Regions from separate parts of the Homo sapiens genome. Here all the other regions are linked to region 2. The links are contacts of gene promoters, found by promoter capture Hi-C in blood cells and fetal thymus (Javierre and others, 2016). All regions are on one chromosome and are shown on one strand. Each heading gives the region's core, a stretch centred on a gene start or on the middle of the fragment in contact. The rest is flanking DNA. Distances are from core to core; before and after follow the strand shown. Region 1 overlaps TMEM131L (transmembrane 131 like). Region 2 holds the start of RNF175 (ring finger protein 175). Region 3 overlaps TMEM131L (transmembrane 131 like). Region 4 overlaps TMEM131L (transmembrane 131 like).

Region 1 (2,875 bases), core at 214-2,713, 190 kb after region 2:
CCACTGCACACCAGCCTGGGCAACAAGAGCGAAACTCTGTCTCAAAAAACAAAACAAAACAAAAAAGAAATAACCAAACCTTGCTGGGTAACCAACACAAAGTTACAGCTAGACAGACAGAATGAGTTCTGGTGTTCTACAGCACTACAGGGTGACTGCAGTTGACTACAATAAAGCCAGAAGGGAGGATTTTGAATGTTCACAACATAATGAAATGATAAATGTCTGAGGTGATAATACGCTAATTACCCTGAGTGGATCGTTACACATTGTATACAGTATCAAAACAGCACTCTCTATCCCATACCTAAGTACAATTATTACATGCCAACTAAAAAGGAAAAAAAAAAGAAAACAACATCTAGAAAGTCAGGTTAAACAGATATAAAAAGAGAAGTGGAGATACTTTGAGATCTCATTGTGCAGGTATTCAAAATGAAATATATCTGTGCTAAATGGAGCTTTTAAAAGACTCTAATAAAGGAAGACAGGCAAGATCTCAGCAGACTGGAATTGTTCCTCAAAAAATAGGCCAGTCATGGTGGCTCACACCTGTCATCCTAGCACTTTGGTAGACCGAGGCAGGTGGATCACTTGAGCTCAGGAGTTTGAAACCAGCCTGGGCAACATGGTGAAACCCTGTCTCCACAAAAAAATATAAAACTTAGCTGGGCATGGTGGTACATGCCTGTAGTCCCAGCTACTCAGGAGGCTGAGGAGGGAGGATCACCTGAGCTCGGGAGGCCAAGGTTGTAATAACTGTAACTGCACCACTGCATTCTAGCTTGGGCAACAGAGCAAGACCCTGTCTTAAAACAAAAGTAAAAATAAAAATAATTAAGAAACCATGATTGAGTTCTAGGAACTGTGAAGAAATACACTTAAATCCCCCATAGTAAACAATTAAGGAGCTCTACCATCAAAGACTGAGGCGGCTACACCAAGCCTTACACAAACCTGGACAGGTGAAAGGAAACCAGGAAGGTGAGTGTGGAATGCTCAGTGCATTTTTCAATGGAGATACAATTACTGCTTGTGCCCTGAGGGAATATGCTTGAGAAGTTTATGGCATTTAGGACTCAATCAAAAGAAGGCACAGCAAAGAGGAAACCATTAAAGGAGAACCAGGCAGGACAAGATAAACCGAGCCTGGGCCTGACTGGGATACTGGGCTGACAGGAGAGTATCTCTTATGTAAGATTATGCAACGCAACAAACAGAAAAAAGATTTGTTTGAACTATAGATGTTTTTAGTAGACCCAGAACTTGATTTTATCTCTTTTGCTTTGGGAGAACACACCGAAAAAAATCTAGAGAAAGATCTAAAGGGAAAATAAATATCTAGACCAAAAAGTTAAAAAAAAATTAAAGGAATGTACTAATTTAAAAAGAAAGAGAGCAACACAAAAAGCTGGTTAAATTGAACAGTGGAGAACAAGCAAGTCCTGGGGGAACAGCCGACTAACACAGAAAAAGAAGGAACTATCACCACTAGGCCCTGATGGACTCACACTTCCAAAGTGTCAACAACTGCTCACCTCAGGGCATCTGCTGAGAACACCACTCCAGTTGAAATAAGTGGACAAAAAGGAAACAAACTTCCCTAAGAAGCAGGTTTCAGAAGCCCCCGCAAGTCCACAGTGAGAGGCAATGGAAACCACCCTGTGCACAGATCTCAACGTCACTGCCCACAGACTGCAGAAGCTCTGCTCCTAACACAGCTTCCATACCACTAGCACAAAAGTGCCGGGAGATGCCAGAAACAAGGGCCCAAGGAAGAAACAGAAATCCACACATGGAAAACAGAAGGAAGGCAGGCCGAGTATGTCGGCTACCGCCAGGCAAATTTATAAACTCTGAGGGAAGGCCAGAGCATCTCAGGTGCCCCTTCCTGAGTAGAGCAGTGGTATGCACAGGTGGCTCCTCTCTAACCCCCAAAGTACCCAGATTAGCCTCCTGACTAATGGTGATCTCTCCCTGCCAAGCGTTAAGTGCAAAGGTCTGAGACTCCACAACCAGCATGAATTCAAGCGGAAACCAAGGTGAGGCTCTCTCCAACTTCCTTCCCTCTCTTTGGTAAATCGAAGTACTAGGGACGATTCTGCTTAAAATTAGTGCTTGGAGGGCTGGGAAGTGGGGGGACACGTTTTCCAATTTTTTTGGATGTGAAGTTAATAATCTGTTATTCTTGTGCGTTTCATTAAGATTGCAGATTCAAGTGAGGCTCAAATGACTTACTATTGAACCACTATAAATTCTGAAACCGTGGGGAAACCACGCACATTCTAGCAAGAACAAATCCAGCCTGTAGCTACTAAAAGTTCCCCAGCTGCACAGAGGCATGGAGAACTTCTGATTAAAATAAAAATAAAATAAAATAAAATAAAAACAAGAAATTGAAGAGGACTTCAAATTCTTTGAATGTTAACTCACAGGCCAAGATAACTGGATACACTACCATAGCCTTGAACTTTCATGTCCCGTTGGGGGTTCTAATCTCTGAATATTAAAGTTCTCCCGGAGTTTCATAATAGAAGAGGGTTTATATTCAGAAGGTTCTTTTTAAAAGTTAAGTGATTAAGGCATTTCAGCTATGTGCCAGAGACTAGTTCTAAGCTCTTTAAATAAATTGGTTGATTCAATTGCTACACCAACCCTATCCGAAAGGGCTATTATTACATATTTTACAGATAAACTGAGACACAGGGAGATTAGGTAACTTGGCTACAGTCACTCAGAACCAAGATTTTTAGCCAGGTGGTCTGGTTTGGAATTCACCCTCTTATTCACTCCCACTATGCATCTCTATGACAGGCATTTTATATGGCTGATATTTTCTACTGCCATATTTTAACACTGTTATTTAATCGCATCA
Region 2 (2,879 bases), core at 194-2,693:
GATTTTTATTTCTCCAATTCATTATGCCTTCTCCAGCATTCCGGCCCTTGCATCCACTGTTCTCTCCATCTCAGACACTCTTTCCAACACACTCTGATCATGCTACAAGGTAGTCTTCAGATGTAGGTAACAGCCCCAGCGGCACCTGAAAACTTGTTCAAAAGACAAATGCTCAGGCTCCACCCTAGACCTACTATATTAAAAACTCTAGGGCTCAACTCCAGCAATCTGAAGATTTTTGTTTTGTTTTTTGATAGAGTCTCGCTCTGTTGTCCAGGCAGAAGTGCAGTGGTTCCATCACGGCTTACTGCAGCCTGAACCTCCCGGGCTCCGGCGATCCTCCAGCCTCAACCTCCTGAGTAGCTGGGGCTACAGGTGTACCACGCCCAGCTCACTTTTGTATATTTTATAGAGATGGGGCTTCACCATGTTGCCTAGGCTGGTCTCAAACTCCTAGGTTCAAGCAATCCGCCCGCCCTGTCCTCCCAAAGTGCTGGGATTAAAGGCATCAGCCACTGTGCTTGGCCAGCACTCTGAGTTTTAACAAACTCAGCATTCCTCCATAGGATTCTGATGCCCAGTTAAGGCTGGAAAACCAAGGCACCATCCGTGATAAATTGTACTTAGATGCTTATTTTTCTCTATCCCCTGTTAGGCTCTACGTTCCACAATGGCAGAGAAATGTCCATCTTGGTCTGTTCACCTCCTTTGTAGGTGTTGACAAATACGAGCCATCACAAACTGGAAAGGGGTAAGCTGTATTTCGTAGGACACATCATCTAATTCTGTGCTCCTCTTTTCTGTTTCCCCAAATCAACACCCAGGTATTTCTAAAGGCTTGCCTAAACGTTCCAGCTTGTTCTCAACCTTGAAGCCAGGCTTAGGCCTAAGTTGTAAAGGCGGGAGGGGAGACCCTGGAGGTAGAGGGGCAAAGGCAAGATGCTTGCGTCGCAGGGGCCCTGCATGGCCTGGAGCAGCATAGGGGCCAAGATGGTCTGCGCTCTCCCTAGATTGGAGTTTCTCTCCTTCATCATCTTTGGAGGAAGCACAGATAACTGAGGAAAGTCTGTATCTGCACAGCCACCCGAACTCCTGCCTCCTAATAAACACCTCTGAGGGAGAGGAAACTCTCTCTCTCTCTTCTCTTCCTCCCCAGCACCCCTCGCCCCCCCACCGCCATTTCTCACTCCTCTACTCCCCTCTCTCTCCCTACCCACCTCTGACCCCTCCTCCAGTCCTGCCGCCCGGTAACAAAACCGGGGTTCCCGCCACACGCACCCGGTAGGGCTCAAGACGCTTTATCGGCGACAATGGCTGGCTGAATGGGAGGCCTGAGGTTCTGAAGGAACCGGGGTGCTGGCGACCGGGACCTCGAGGCCGCTGCTGGGGAGGACGCTGGCCAGCGTGCAGGGGGCGGAGGCGGGGCGTGCCGGGAGGCTCCCATCTCCCGCCCCGCACAACCCGGGCAGGGCCGCCGCTCCGCCGCCGCCGCAGATCCGGCTCTCACCCTCGGCTCCCGAGGCCCCGCGGCGCCTCCTTCTGCGGACTCTGCGGGACCCTCCCCGGCAGGCGCTGTGCCCTGGAGAAGGCACAGTGGCTCAGGCATGGCCGCGGGGACGGCGGCGCGGAAGGCAGCGCCGGTGCTGGAGGCCCCCCCGCAGCAGGAGCAGGTACTGGCGCGGGGGCGCGGGCGTGGGGGACGCCAGGCCGGGGTCCCGGGGCTCACGCTGGTGCCGGGCAGGCTGCACAGACTGGTCTCCAAGACCCCGGGCCCCACCGGGGAGAACCGGCCCTGGAAAGACGTGGGGACGGACGCATGACCTTCTGGAAGATGCCACCGTGCGGGGTGCCAGTCCCTCCTCCACTCCCTCCCTCCCCACTTCTGTGCCCTCCCCGCTACCTTCCTTTCCTCCTTCTGATCCTCTTCCTTCGCTCCATCCCTCTTCTCGCATCCTCGCACTTTCTCTTCCAGGCTCACCCCTTCCACTCCCGCCCTCCTTTGTGACCGCCTGTGCCCTCCTCCCTCCTCGGCGGAAGCCCCCAGAGCCCAGGGTCAAGGTCGTAAGCTGCGAGAGAGGGGAAGGGGTGTACTGCAGGCTTTTGGCTAGACCGCCCTGGTTCTCAAACTCGAGTGTCATCAGAATCACTCGGAGGGCCTGTTACCACGCAGACTGCTGGTCTGTGCCCAGGGTTTCTGATTCAAGATGTGTACCCTGATCGTCAGCTTGTCTTGCCTGGTGCTCAACCTAGCCCATTTCTGCTTCTGCTGGCGTCAATTGCAAACCCAATCTTAATTTATTCTTCGTTCATAGGACAATTCTTCTTAGGCTACATCCAGGTACCAGGAGGATTTGGGGGTGGAGGAGGGTAGGTCTTACCTGGAGGAACCCAAATCCCATCCGTAAAACGAGGACAAAAATAACTCTTAAGGGCAAAGATAACTCTTAAACAACAACAAAAATCACTCACAGAGCGGGTAGGAAGAGATTAATGTCCCAAAATAGGTTCAGGCAAAGAACTGTAGGATTTCTGAGAAGGGCTTGCTCCTGACTAACCCCCTTCTCCTCCAACCCGTGAGGGCGTGGCATTCGAGCTGGGTGTTGGGGAATGGACAGGATCTGACCTCATGGGCCAGAGAATTCTAGATGGAGGGAACAACAGTACCAAATGGCTTGGAGATTTTTTTTTTTTTAATATTGGGATGGATGGCCATGGGACAAGGCAGAGAGAGGGGACTGTCCACTCTGACTGCCAGAAACCTAGGGGTCAGGAATGCTTATAGCAAAAAATAAGGGTGGGCTAGGCTGTGGAGGGGCTTGTGTACCACAAAATGGGGAAACTTAAAATGAAACTCCATGACTTTCTTGCTGGTTTCAAAC
Region 3 (2,828 bases), core at 247-2,746, 170 kb after region 2:
CAGATTCTACAACAGGAACACACCTACCGGATTAGTATGAGTGAGGTAACTTTTCCATAGTCAGCAGGTGTGAAAACTACGCCAACCCTTTTCATTTCCAAAGGCTGCAGATGTAAGTGGAGGATGCCAAACCTGGATTCCTCAGAATGCGTACCCTGCAAATTAACAAATTAAACCATGTCATACTCCTAGAAAGCAAGCTTCCATTGTCATTAAGTGCATCCTAGAGTTTAAACACGATTGCTTCTCTTTTAATGTCCAGATTTGATCCTCCTAATCAACCTGTTAGAACTTGCTTATCCTGAGAGTTCACTCCAATAAACAGCTTCTGAGCCATAGCTAAGAAATATAGGCAGAGACTACAAGACAACCTCACACAGATGCTGGAGAGGGGATTTGCTTCCTGGTTTGAATGGAAGTTGGGGCTAGAAGCTTTCTACACAAAGATGCTTTGAATGTACAACATCAATCAGAAAACAGACCCAACAGCCTCTGCTTGAATGCTAGAGCAATCTGACAAGACCACTCACCCACCACTGGACAACCCAAAGATCTCTTTATATAAATTCTTTATACTGAATTTAAGTTTATATAGAAATCATCTTTATTATATTTAGTATCTCCAGTCAGAAGAAAGATCTTTATTTATTCACATCTTCCTCTATTTTCTCCAAGATGTCGTGTTTTTTTTTTTTTTTGGCATAAAACTTGTGCTCTAAGTTTAGTATCCAAGGTTTAATTCTTTTTATCTTTTTGGTAAGTGGACTTTCCCTCTTTCCACTGCTTTTTCTAGCTCCATCTCACTAAAAACAATGCAATGTATCACTTCTTAGAGCTAATATATAATCCTGAAGAATATTATTTCTCTTTGTTTTTAACTTTTAATTTTATGTTTCAGTTATTGCTAGTGTTACCCATGCCATCTGAAAAAGAGAATAGTAATAGTATTTGATTATTTGATTCATTTTTATTAGAATTATAAACTCCATGAAGGAAGAAACCCTGCTTTACGCAGGTAATATGAATACTGAATTTAAAAGCTGCTGACTTTTGGTGTTAAACTTATAGTAAAAACAGCACCTCTATTAAATGGTTCTTATATGCCAGGCACTGACATTTTTAGGGTATATAAAAAACTCCAATGTTCTTAACCCAAGGAACTATATTTCTAAAAGCAAATCAGCAAAATCAAAATGCAGGAAGCCTTTCTTTACATGATGAAGAATTCTAATAACAATTCTGAGTTAAATTTTAACTCAGTGTTTTCAAGGCACTGATATTAACTATTCTTTTCATCAATGTAATAAATTAACAATAGTAATAATTTCTCTTATCCCAAAATATATAATATTTCTTGGGAAAAACAGTCATAGATAAAAACTTCTTCCAAATGAGTTACATCATTTGTTCACATCTAAATAGAATATTTAGATTTAAAATAAACGGGCATTATTTTTGGAATTTCAAGCTATACATGATTCAATACCAGTGAGGCAAGATATCACTTAGTATTTTGGACTAATTATCCTGAATAGCCTTGAAGACCTCCTGGTGGAGAAAATGAGAAGGAGAGAGAGGGGCAGACTCGCTAACAAGAATAAAACCACACCTGGGTGCACGGCTTCACCACTCCCCCCAACTCGCCCAGTGCTGCCTCAACACTTAAGAAAAGAAAGGAGAGTCTGTGGTAATGGGTTATCTGTGGTCTCCCTCCTTCTGTTATTGAAAGTAATCTAGAGCCAACAGTATATTTTTGGAGGGATAAAGATAAAGAAAGAAGAAAATACCCAAGGCGCTTAAATATAGTGTAGTAAAAATAGAGTTATCCGCATATGTGAGTTTACATGTGTATGTATGTATTTTTTGTCAACAGATGCTCCACTTTTGAATTGATCTCAAACACAGAATACCTGTAAGGCCAACACTCAGCTGTATATAAATAGCCACGGAATGACTGAGTGGAAACTGAGAAGTAAGGCTGCCAAGTCCCCAGGCAAATAGCATCTTCACCACATGACATGTTTACTCCTACTCCTAAGTATTTGGGCAAGACCTCATGACTGCCCACAGGCTTAAGAATTTTAGAGTAGTCCTTTTTTATAGATAAGGTAAACATCACAGAAATTGGGTGACTTGCTAAAAACAGGAACACAGTTTAGTAAGAGAAGATTTTTTTTAATGTATTTGTTTTTCCTTATCTTGCCCTAAAAAAGAATTTGAGGGCCAAGGAATCTTAAGAGAATTATAAATTCTGGGGTCTCAAGTTTCATGGTTTTCTACAAAGCTCTGTTCAACTGTTATTTCTTTACTCACATGATTCTAAATAATCAAATTAAAATGATTTAGAGCTAACATAAACCCAGCTCCTACCGCACTAGTTAACTGGAAAAATCTGCTATGTATCGTTAATGCCCAGAGAATCAAAATAAAAGAGCCATATATAGTAAATAAAAGACATTTTAAACATAAATCAATGAGGCCCGTATGCTCATGTGTCTAGTTTGTCGGCATTCTTTTTTCTGTTTTAGGATAACATCCTACCAGGTAAGGGCAAGCTTCGGTGAGCTGGAATTCACCAGTTGTGAAATTAATCATCTGCATATCAGTGCCAAACCTATAAGGAAAAAAGCAAATGTTTAAAACAGCACTCACATCTGCCAGTAAAGAAAGATTTAATAAGTGTGTGCACATATATACATTTATACATAGGTGAGTACATTTGCACACACATACACACAAAATTCATCCCATCCTGTCCACCCGACATTCCACCCCACATTCCCACCCAGCTCCACCCCACATTCCCACACCCATATCTGCCATATTGT
Region 4 (2,836 bases), core at 21-2,520, 140 kb after region 2:
TTGCTGTTAACTTTGCAGCAATAAATCCTCCAACCTTCACCTGTTAATTTGGTATGTGCAACTCACATAAATTACTGTACTATGAAGAAAAATTAGGTAAAAACTCAACTTAGGATCAAGTTGTGTCTTTATGTTTTTGTTTATAGACGAACTTTAGGAGAACAGCCAAATCTCTATAGAATGCTCCAAACTAGTGTAAGCTTCTCAGGTAAATAGGCAAGAATATGCCTGATGTTTCAAAAATGTGGTTCTGAAAAGCATCAGCATGAGATGCATAAACATTATATACATAAGTATTAAATAAGTATAGTTTCCTCAATTGGAGCCTTTTCCTCTTTTCAATGTCAGGCATGGTCTATTAACAGACCCAACGGGAGAGGGATTCCCTTTGCCCTTTCAAACTATGAAGTAGCTCAAGTCTTTAACATATTCTAATCCTTATTATTCTTCTTCCTTCCACATGTTGCCCTCTTAAAACAGAGACACTGTCAGTGGGTGGGCGGTGGTGGTAGCTCACACACTGAGACCCAAGGGCTTAAAAGACACAACTCTTCAGTGTGTTAGGTCCTTTCAGGAGGAAGATAAATCTTCTCCAGGCACCTCACAGAGGCAAATTCCCTAGATCCAGAAGAGTCCCCTTCCTACTGACTGAAGGATTCACACTTCATGGAAAGCAAAGATTGGCTCATTTTACCTTCTCTTTCAGAAGGTTGGCCCAGCAATCAGAGTAGGAATTGTGAAGTTGAAACATACACTCAACTAACACGAATAACTTGGAAGGAGAAAAAGGTTTTAGGTAACCTGCAATACCTACAAGTTCTATGTCTGAGATATTAGAACCCTTATGCATCTATTAAAGCAATGTGCACACCACAGTAAATAAAAACTAGAAGCAAAATGGGATTTGTAACTGCGTAGGCAGTGGGATTATGACATTTTTTATTTCTCCTTTATACACCTTTGTTTCCCCCAATAAGTATGTATTAACCTTTTTCTGATTCTGAAGGTATTTTAAAAACCTGACAAGTTAAGCATACAAAGCCCTATTGTACAGGACCTTATGCTAATTGCTTAAGTTTGAAGCTAAACTGAAGGATATGCAGACTCGGGATTTAATGTTAAACAGACATGCACCACATTTCTTCATGTATTGTTCCTTTGTGTCTTTCTAACTTGGTGGGGAGGTTTCCCACCCCCGTCCACTCAAGGGCCAGCAAAGGCTTGTCGACACAGCAAGTACTTGAGCCTATCCATCCCTCCAAGGTCAGGTACAAATAAAAAATCAGTCTCTCAGTGGGGTCTGAGAAAGCGTGAGCTGGTAAGCAGTCACTGATACTTGGCTGCCTTTCTCAAATCCATCTGGTTGGAACTGTCATCCTGTGCAAGCGAAAGGGTGAGTACATTCAGGACTACTGAGAGGCGGGACTCGGTGACCAGAAGCATCAAAGAGTTCTCCGTGAGTATGACAAAGAAAAGGGGAATGCAGGACAAGCTAGATTCAGAGGCGTGAGACATATCCCAGAAAGAGTGGCAGGGAGCACCTTCTGAAGCACTGGGCAGTGAGGAGGGATGTGGCTGAGAAAGAACAGGCCTGCAATGGAGACAGCAGGTAGAACAGGGAGGGAAAGTGAGCCAGAGCACACAGCAACAGACTTGTCAAGAAATCCGAGGAAGAGCAAAGCACCACCTGCCTGCTTTCTGGTGCAGAGGATCCCAGAGAGAGAAGGACAGGACTAACCAGGAAACTGAAGAGTCACATGGAGCTGCAATTAGGAGTATATCTCGGAGGCTAAACTGCCTAGTTTCAATCTCGTGCCTTGATTACTGGCTGTGTAACCTTGGGCAAGTTACTTAGCCTCTCTGCCTCAGTTTCCCGAGTCATCCTCAAAGCATTGTGTGGACTAAATTACCTAGCATCTCATAAGCCATTTAAATGAGACTTAGTTATCGTCATCATTATTATTGAGTTATTTGGAGGTTTTTTTGGTGGGTTTTTTTTTTTTTTTTTTGGAGACAGGGTCTTGCTCTGTTGCTCAGGCTAGAGTGCAGTGAGGCAATCATTGTTCACTGCTGCCTCAACCTCCCAGGCTCAAGCAACCGCCTACCTCAGCCTCCTGAGTAGCTGACACTACAGGCAAGTGCCACCATGCCCAGCTATTTTTTTTTTATTTTCTGCAGAGATGGGGTCTTGCTGTGTTGCCCAGACTGGTCTTGAACTCCTGGGTTCAAGAGATTCTCCTGCGTCAGCTGAACTATTTGAACTAGTTACGTTTGCTGATCTCTCTGATAGAGGTGATGATTTCACAGATGGCAGTGTGGAGAAACATTTCCTAAGCTTTACTAAAAGCAAAGGAAGAAATCAAAGAAGAGAAATCACAAACTTACTGCAAAAGTCATTCTTAAAGCCACTCACTGTGTATAAGTAAAATCAAATAAGCAATAACTAAGTTTGCTTAGTTTCTTAGCAAACTAAGAAAAATCTCTGATACACAATATTTGATAGAGTTGATATCTTTAACACAGAAAGTGCTCTTACAGAGAATAAAACATTCAAAAGAAAAATGGGCAAAGGACATGAAATATAAATTCATGAAACAAATGCAAAAGCAAAAAAAAAAAAAACCACGAAGAGCTCGTCTAAAATATTCCATCATAAAATAATGTTTTTAGAAAAGGTGAATTATAGACTACCTTGTGTCTCCTCTTTCCATTTTGGTTTTAGAAAACACAAATGTGTTTATGATGCATAAGCACTAGGAAATGGCTGGGGAAGCAGGATCCTGTTCACTGTGTCTGCCTCTGAAGTGTGGAAGCAGAACTAGGTTAGACATTTACC

What was found. The method cuts DNA at HindIII sites, captures the fragments that hold promoters and counts their contacts. A CHiCAGO score of 5 or more calls a contact.
Region 1: a fragment that was not itself captured here is called in contact with the fragment with the promoter of RNF175 in region 2 in 1 of 17 cell types (neutrophils); the score reaches 5.1 in neutrophils.
Region 3: a fragment that was not itself captured here is called in contact with the fragment with the promoter of RNF175 in region 2 in 1 of 17 cell types (neutrophils); the score reaches 5.0 in neutrophils.
Region 4: a contact is called between a fragment that was not itself captured here and the fragment with the promoter of RNF175 in region 2, in 2 of 17 cell types (neutrophils and M1 macrophages). The highest score is 6.7, in neutrophils.

The regions. Positions count from the first base shown.
Region 1 is chr4:153,569,516-153,572,390 of GRCh38, reverse strand. All of the region lies in intron 7 of TMEM131L (transmembrane 131 like), which reads right to left. Among named protein-coding and RNA genes, the nearest start is that of TMEM131L, 100 kb to the right of the region's middle. The HindIII fragment of the contact is 4,820 bases long and covers 1-2,875 here.
Region 2 is chr4:153,758,588-153,761,466 of GRCh38, reverse strand. RNF175 (ring finger protein 175) reads left to right here and starts at 1,443. Exons shown (of 9, transcript NM_173662.4): 1 at 1,443-1,670. The coding sequence starts at 1,605. The HindIII fragment of the contact is 8,763 bases long and covers 1-2,879 here.
Region 3 is chr4:153,593,585-153,596,412 of GRCh38, reverse strand. TMEM131L (transmembrane 131 like) reads right to left here. Exons shown (of 35, transcript NM_001131007.2): 19 at 2,542-2,614; 20 at 28-155. Among named protein-coding and RNA genes, the nearest start is that of TLR2, 89 kb to the left of the region's middle. The HindIII fragment of the contact is 2,123 bases long and covers 435-2,557 here.
Region 4 is chr4:153,617,650-153,620,485 of GRCh38, reverse strand. The region is part of intron 26 of TMEM131L (transmembrane 131 like); the gene reads right to left. Among named protein-coding and RNA genes, the nearest start is that of TLR2, 65 kb to the left of the region's middle. The HindIII fragment of the contact is 2,135 bases long and covers 203-2,337 here.